Linked DNA regions of Homo sapiens: region 2 is linked to region 1. Evidence: promoter capture Hi-C in 16 types of primary human blood cells and fetal thymus (Javierre and others, 2016). All regions are on one chromosome and are shown on one strand. The core of a region is centred on a gene start or on the middle of the fragment in contact, and the rest is flanking DNA. Distances in the headings are between cores, read along the strand shown.

The links. The method cuts DNA at HindIII sites, captures the fragments that hold promoters and counts their contacts. A CHiCAGO score of 5 or more calls a contact.
Region 2: a fragment that was not itself captured here is called in contact with the fragment with the promoter of LAMA5 in region 1 in 5 of 17 cell types (erythroblasts, M1 macrophages, endothelial precursors and 2 more); the score reaches 7.8 in erythroblasts.

What each region holds. Positions count from the first base shown.
Region 1 is chr20:62,365,926-62,369,821 of GRCh38, reverse strand. LAMA5 (laminin subunit alpha 5) reads left to right here and starts at 2,510. Exons shown (of 80, transcript NM_005560.6): 1 at 2,510-2,873. The coding sequence starts at 2,577. RefSeq lists enhancers at 208-907, 3,006-3,705 and a silencer at 2,387-2,826. The HindIII fragment of the contact is 18,996 bases long and covers 1-3,896 here.
Region 2 is chr20:62,637,592-62,641,521 of GRCh38, reverse strand. It overlaps LOC124904949 (a long non-coding RNA gene), which reads left to right. Exons shown (of 2, transcript XR_007067711.1): 2 at 176-3,877. Among named protein-coding and RNA genes, the nearest start is that of SLCO4A1, 2.9 kb to the left of the region's middle. The HindIII fragment of the contact is 4,159 bases long and covers 1-3,930 here.

The sequences.
Region 1 (3,896 bases), core at 1,261-3,760:
GCTCCTCCACGGCCCTCCCCTGGCGAGCCACCTCCTTTTACCCTCCCCTCCACTCCCAGACTGGGCAGCTCCCTCCTGTGGATTCAGGACAGGACGTGTTTGGGGGTGGGGTGCCGTCTGACCTGTTGCAGGGAGGAGGACTACGTCACGGGCGGGTGCCCGAAAGATGCCCAGTAAATAGGAGTAAGAAATGAATGATGGACAAACTTCCTCTTGCTTTACTAACTTGTGTGCTCTTGATTGACCCTGGCCTTTTTGGCCTCAGTTTCCCCATTTGTAAATAGAAGAGGTGGCTGGGCTGCGCAGGACTCAGAAAGACAAGGAGACAGGCTCGCTGGTCCATTTGGTGATGACTCACTGGAACCATGACAAAGACAGCAGGGGTGGGGGTGTGCAGAGATGAGCTGCCCCTCTCCCTGCTCACCTCCCCAACCCCCTGTGTGTAGCCCGGCTGGGACAGCCCCCCCGCCCTCCATACGCTCAGCTCCTGCCCCAGCTGCCTCCTTCCCAGTCCGTGCACCAGCAGACACAGGGTGGGGGCAGAGTGTGGGCTCTTTACCCAGCCCCTGGGCCACATTCTCTTGTCCACTGCGCTGCCCGCCTGCCTGCCAGTTGCTCCCGGGGCAGCTGTCTGCCGGGAAGCAGTGAGCCCGGTGATTAACCCTGCTGGTGCTGGCAGCTCCGGCTGACACAGCGCATTCTCAGGGCCGGCCCCCGCTCCCCTCCTGGCCAGTGCCGGGGGACAGCGGAGGCCTGGCAGCTTGGCCTGATCTGGCCGCTAGGAGGCTTAAAGTGCTCTCCCCACCCCCACCTCTCCCCCTGCCCCGCCACTCGCAATCCCACCCCTCCAACCACCCGACCCTCCAGGGATCCCAAGAAGCCCTCAGGGTCTCAGGAGTCTCCACCTCCAGTCCCCCAGGCTGTCAGAGCCCCAAGCTGTCAAGGGGGAGCCCAGAGCCAGAGCACACTGCCTGGGGCCAAGCCCCCACCTGGGGACCCGCTACTGCCCAGAGGCCACTCTCTGCCTCACACGGGATCTAAAGCAGCTCAGAGCCGGACTCTGCGCCTGGACTGCAGATTCCTTGATGTCTCCGCCCCCTCTCCAGCCAGCCCCTCCCCCACTTGGAGCTTCTCCTGCCAAGGGGAGCCGCCTCCTCTCCCCCCTCCCCCAGGTGGGAGAACTAATAGTGAAGTTATGGAAGAATTGCCGGGCCGGAAAGTAGGAGGAGGGAGAGAGGGTCCCATCGCCCTCCCGACTCCGTAGAGAAAGGGCCATACACCCTCTTGGGATTTGAGATTTGCAGGAGGCCAGGGCGCCAGGAAGGTGTGCAAGGAGGTGCACCCTCCAGGGACAGCTGCTAGCTCAGAACCCCCACCAGAACCGGCTGGCCAGTGCCCCACAAACCCACCCAGCCCCCCGGGACTGTCCAGGGAACCCAGCGAGAGATGAGCCCCACAGCCCATCTGGGACCATGGCCCGCCCAGCTGGCCTGGCTCAGGGATGGGGGTTTGCTGCCAGCTCGGCAGCTGCAGCCCCACCCCGCCGCCACCCCCTCGGGGCTTCCCTGGAGGCAGATTTGGCCCCGGAGCCCAAGGGAAGTAGGAGACCCAGGGCCGCAGCCACCCAAAGGCAGACGAAGACCTGATCTCGGCCTCTAGGTCCTGTGCTGTTTGCCAGGCGTCCTCGAGCCGCCGATCGTGGCAGGAACGCGTGCGCGGCTGTGCAGCGGGTTGGAGGCCAGGCCGAGAGAGCTGGTGGAGTCCACCGGGCCCCGGAGCACAGGTGCTTCCAGGCACCCAGCAGGTGCTCAGCAGCTGTGACCAGAGCCCCCGACCTCCTTAAGAGCCAATTTGGCGGCTGTGGGGCCATGAGCACCGCCCCCGTCCTCTAAAGGGGGCTGCAGCTGCAGGCCAGTCCCTCCTGCCCCTATTTCCCTATCTGAGAGTATTTTTAAGCCCTGCTGGGGCAGGCGGGAGCCAGGCCGAGTTGAACCTGACCTGGCTGCCCCAGGAAGCAGGGGGTTCCCACCTAGGCTGCCCCGTTCCTCTGCAGATGGTCATTCGCGGGTGCAGAGGGCACCTTCCCGCAGCCAGCAGGACGGACGCTGTTGGGGGAGGAGCGGGGGCAGCCGAGTGGTGCACCCAAGTTAGGGGAACAAAGAGTGGGCCCCTGGGCTGGGAGGAGCTGGTGGGCGCTCTGGGGGCCAGGGCGTCGTGGGGAGCGCTAGGGTCCCACCCGGGACCCGGAGCTACGACCTGGGCTGGGGGCCCGGCGGCGCCGTCGTCCCACGGCCTGGCCCGAGGCCAGCAGGTGCCCCTTCCGGGAGGCGGCCGGGCCGGGGTCCGAAGGGTTAAGGCCGCCCGGCCGCCCCTCCCCCTCCTCTCTCCTTCCCCCCCCCACCCCGCCTCCCCGGACCTCTCCCCGGGGCTCGGGGCTCGGGCGCTCGGGCGGGCCGGGGCGGGGCCTGACGTCCGCGGGCGGAGCGAGCCCTGCCGGCCGCCTGGCTTCAGACCCGCCGGGCTCCCGCCGCGCGCGCTGTCCCTGGAGCTCGGGGACGCGGCCCGGAGCCGGGAAGATGGCGAAGCGGCTCTGCGCGGGGAGCGCACTGTGTGTTCGCGGCCCCCGGGGCCCCGCGCCGCTGCTGCTGGTCGGGCTGGCGCTGCTGGGCGCGGCGCGGGCGCGGGAGGAGGCGGGCGGCGGCTTCAGCCTGCACCCGCCCTACTTCAACCTGGCCGAGGGCGCCCGCATCGCCGCCTCCGCGACCTGCGGAGAGGAGGCCCCGGCGCGCGGCTCCCCGCGCCCCACCGAGGACCTTTACTGCAAGCTGGTAGGGGGCCCCGTGGCCGGCGGCGACCCCAACCAGACCATCCGGGTGAGCGCAGGGGCGGGCCGTGGGGCTTCCTCCCGGGGCACTCGGACCCGGAACACCGGCCCGACCCCAGGGGGAGCGCCGTGGCCCGGGGCGAGTCCAGGTGCGGACTCTCTGGTTCCGCATTTTGGGGGCCCAAGAAGGCACCCCGACCCGGCCGCTCCGTCTCGGCCGGGAAACTTCGCGTCCCTCCGGGAAGGCGGAATTAAAGTCCCCGGCATGGACCCGGGGGCGGCTGGGCGCCGGTCCAGTTCGACTGCGGTGACCGGGGCGGGAGGGGGGCCGGGCCCAGTCCCTGGCGGCCCCAAGTCCGGGATCCCGGGGAGGGCGGGACTTGGCCTCCGCCGCCTGCTGCCGGTGGGGAGGGGGCGCAGCTCCGCCCTACCCGGGACAGGCTGGAACCTGTTGGCCTCTGGATGGGGTGGGAGGGGCCAGCCACCTGAGGCTCCCACTAGCCCCTCTCGGAGGAGTCTAGGGACTCGAGGAGACCTCCAAAGTAGGGGAGGGCCAGCTGCGAAGTTTTGACTGGGGCTGGGAACACGTGGCTCCCAGGAGGGGCAGCATCTCTGCCCAGCAGGTGGTAGGGTCCGGGGGCTTCAGTCTCCCTGGGAGATGTGGGTTCAGGCCCTGAAGACCCCCTGGGGTGCATGTCCCCTCCCCAACAAGCCTTAAACCTGTAGGCGGGTTCTGTTGGTGGACTCCATGCATGGACACCTCACCTGAAAACCAAGGCTCTTGGGGCCCTGTAGACTTAGGTTGGGCCTGGGGTCAGCCTTGGGTGAGGAGCAGCAAAGTCAGCTCCAACGGCTCCCAACCGGCCGCTCTAGGCCCATTCCCCACCTCAGCCCCACCTTAGGGAGAGTCTAGGGGCCCTGAGGGCCTGTGTAACCTGAGCTGTCTCCTCCCTGGTACCTCTGCCTTCCCGGAAGGAGAGGCTGGGGCAGGGGCGAGTAGCTGGAGATTTGCTGGGTGGGGGCAGAGGGCCCTGGAGCAAGACGTTATGGGGATGAATGGAGGAGCCTGGGC
Region 2 (3,930 bases), core at 727-3,226, 270 kb before region 1:
ACGGCCCCAGGCTGGTGAGGAAGTCCTAGCCACGGAGGCGGTGCTGCAGGACCTGGCCTGGTGGCATAGCGTGGCGGGCGGGTTCACCGTGGAGAGACGAAGGAGGTGCTGCGGCTTGTGAGAAAAGGCCCACAACCCCATGCAGTTATTTATGAAATGGTTTTCCTTCCTCCAGGGCTTGGGGCTCCTGCCCACTCGTATCAGGTCCCGGGACCCCCCCGGTGGTGTCCTCAGGGCTCCCGCCGTCCCAGGCCGCCCTCCACTTCTGGAAGCAGACACGAGGCCACGAGACCCACTGCTTTTGGGTATCTGCTTTCATTCCTGACACTGCCCTTTAAGAGAAAAAAGTACCCACATTGTTCCCAGATGGAGAGGGTCCCTCCCAGAGGGTGAGGCACTGCCACAGGGGCTCACGGCCCTGCCAGGAGTGGAAGGTGCACACCCAGAAGTATTTCTCCTGTGAAGGAAGGGGGCTGAGCTTCGCTGCAGACCTGGCCTCAGGTGTGGATGAGCTTCGCTGCAGACCTGGCCTCAGGTGCGGAGTCTGCGGGAGCAGCATTTCCAGGCAGACCTGACAGAAGGTGCCTTTGAGAGGTGGTGAGCTCCGTGTTACAGGAGGCTTGTGAGCACAGGTAGCCCATCTTCTGGTGATGATGCTGGAGAAGCAATTCAAATGTCAGAAGCAGGACTGGACTCTGTTTCCAAAACTCACGTCTGGATTCTACCCCCTGAAAACATTATTTACACAATGTTTTTCCTTTAAACAATTCACACATTTGATTAAAAGGGTAAGTTTATTTTTTAAAAAGTCAGTGTCAATTACCACAAAGAGGTCACCATAAAAATAGATAAAAAGAAACAAAATGGCATTAAATTCTAGCCAAATATTGCTGCCTGTGGAGGGCTCCCGGCCTGAGACCCGCCTCAGACCCCACCAGGCATTCTTTGGGATTCCTGCATAGGCACCATTGGAAAGGTAAATCCAGAGCAAACATTTCAGGTACATTCGTGCAAAATGCAGGCCCTCAGTCCTGTCCTCAAAGGCAAATGCTGGTGCCCAGGCTCCTCAAGAGGCCCCTAGGAGCACCAGGAGGCCTTGACCCAGGTGAAGGGTCCTGCCGCAGGCCATCAAGGGGGTCTGCAGGTCTGGCCCAACTCCAGGCCCTGCGTGGTGGGGTCCATCTGCACCAGCTTTCGGGAGCCGACTGTGTCCTTACTCTTGCCCTAGAGGACTCGGGGGTCAGCTACAGAGCACAGCAGTGTCTTGGAACAAGGGCAGCCTGATTATGTGCCCTGGAACATTCTGAACTCAATAAGTTCTATCCCAGCAGGGCTTTTTTTCTTTCTTTTCTTTTTTTTTTTTCTTTTTTGAGAGGAAATAATTAAAAGAAAAAGAAAGCGAGAACCCCCTGGCTCCCCTGTGGCCTTGCAGGGTCGTACTGCTGCCTGTCCGGGCGGCTTCAGGAGGCTCGGAACAGATGCTGCACATTTGTGGGCCACTTACTGTTCTCTGACATCATCTTTAGAGGCACCTCAAAGAGCTGAAATGTGACAGCCTGTATTTCCACCTCCCTCTCTCTTTATGGACATTGTCACTTGGAGGAAAATCGATCTAAAGATCAGAAGAGAAGTGTAGAGAGAGAAGAGAGAGAAACGCTGTCAGGTCAAGGGGCAGGTTAATGGCCAACCCAGAAACAGCGTGGGATCCCGGTGCCTCTGCCTGGAGGGTCCAGCCTGGAACACACATCATTCCTAGCTTTGACCAGGAATGGTATCCAAAAAATGACCTCACTTAGCTATTAGTACTTGATTGGGATAATACTTAAAATCCTGCTAATATTTCTGTGGTTGCTTCCATTCTGTAGTCATAGTTCATTTCTATTTTCTATGAATTTGGCGTATGTCTTAGCCAACTCATTTGAAACTGCCTGTCCTTCCTTGACTTATAAAAAAATGGCCATTTCAGCTTCGTGATAATGGGCAAGTCTCAGAAATGATGAAAACATCATTTAATTGTTTCATTATTTCAAAGTCTCAGGCTGTGGCCATGTGGTGGAGGCTCTAGAGAAAGTTTCTAAAAAATATTTTAAAAGTTACGACTGCACTGTTTTGCATGAGAAAGAGGATTTTGCTAAAGATTGAAGGCGATCGGGCTGCAGGCGAAATGTGGCTTGAAGTCCCCAGCTCCAGAGTGGCACGTTTCAGTCTGTTAAATGCTGTGTTCAGGTGAGGAGTTAGGATCATGGTACAACCCAGATGTGGGCTGGCGGCTGGCACACAGCTTAGCAAAGAAGAGACGCACAAGGCCAGAGTGGCCTTAGGAAAAACTCAGCCTGGAGTTGTCCAAATGTCCGCGATGGAGGAGTTTCATGGGGGAATTAAGATTGTCAGGTTAGGGAAGGGCACAGGTAGCTGGGAGGCTCTTTGGTAGCAAAATTCCATAGAAGATAAAAAGCATGTTCTCTCTTGGAAATCATCAGTCCATCCTGTCGGAGCCCCTTTGGAGCAGGGTGTGGCTGGAGGGCCTGGCTTGCTGGCCACGCCTCAGTCACAGCATTGGCTTTCCTGCGCTTCTGCTTCCTGCTCTTCCCGGTGATCTGCGTCCTGCGGGGCGCACAGCAAGCCCTCCGTGGGACGAAGATCTTCGTCTTCCATCCACGCTGCTTTGCTCACCTGCGACATGACCTGAGGCTCTGGCCCTGCTGAGCTGGGCCCTTGGCCAGTGCTGTACAAACGCCATCCACCATCTGGTGACAGCAGCCTAGCAATTGACCAACAGAGGCCTCCCACTGTCCTCCCTCCTGCCGCCCTCCCTCTGCATCTCCCAGAGCAGGACGACTCCAGGGAGACAGACTCAATTCAATCTTTTTCTGTTTCAGAGAATCTGTCACCATTAAAAGCAGCTACCAGGGAATCTGATTCCATTGCACCAGGTCTCAGGTCTCAGGTCTCAGGCGTTCTTCCAAAATGCTGGTGGATGGTGGGCTCTCGCCCTGGGATTATAGATGCCCAGATAAACCATATGTAAATAACACTGCATTTAACCCGCCGACAAAGGGTGGCCTTCTTGACGGTGGTGAAGGAAGTTTTGACCCAGGAGAACAGAGGTCGTCATTCACAAGCACTAGGGTCCGGTGAAAGCACAGGCTTCAGCGTCTGGACAGGCAGCTACATGACGGTATCATGTTCTCTTTAGAAGCCACCAACTGATTCCTGTGTGTTCAGAGCCTGCTGTTAGAGATTAGGTGTGGGGTAGAAAAAATTGGAATCTGGACTTCCCTGCCTGGCGAGATGGCCCTGAGCTCTGAGACATGACCTGAGGACACCTGGAGTGCCCTGAGTTCCAGGGGACACATAGCAGCCAAGTGGGGAAGAGGCCACTGAATGCCGGTGGCTCCGTGGCAAAGGCACATGGAGCTGTAGGAAGAGACATGCTGGGGCCCCCAGCACCTGGAGAGCAGCAGCCCTGTCCACACCTGGGGCCTTGGCTGCCCACAGCCTCTCTAGAAGGGTCATCTGAATTTCACTGGTGATCTGCTTGTGAGGTCTTCTGCATACACTCTTACTTACAAAGAGGCAAACGTCTGCCAGCCCAAGGGCTTCTGGAACTGCCTCGGTCTGCCTGGCTCCTGAGCCTCCCCGCGGGTCTGGGGGTGGAGGTGTTCACAGGGTTCACTTGGCTGAGACCTCACATTCTGGAAGGGCCTCGTGTTAGGTGAGTGATTATCTTAGCTTCCAATACAACTGTGCATGCAGTCCGGACCCGCCGAGGCACAGACCCATCAGGTCTTCTGCTAACTCTCATCCCGGCCCACCCAGCATGACTAGCAAGATTATATTGCATTGAGAGTGTTTACAGTAAAAGCGTTAAATGTAATCATTTACCTTGTTGGCGATTGTTTGCAGCCCTCTTTGAGCATTCATTCCCTC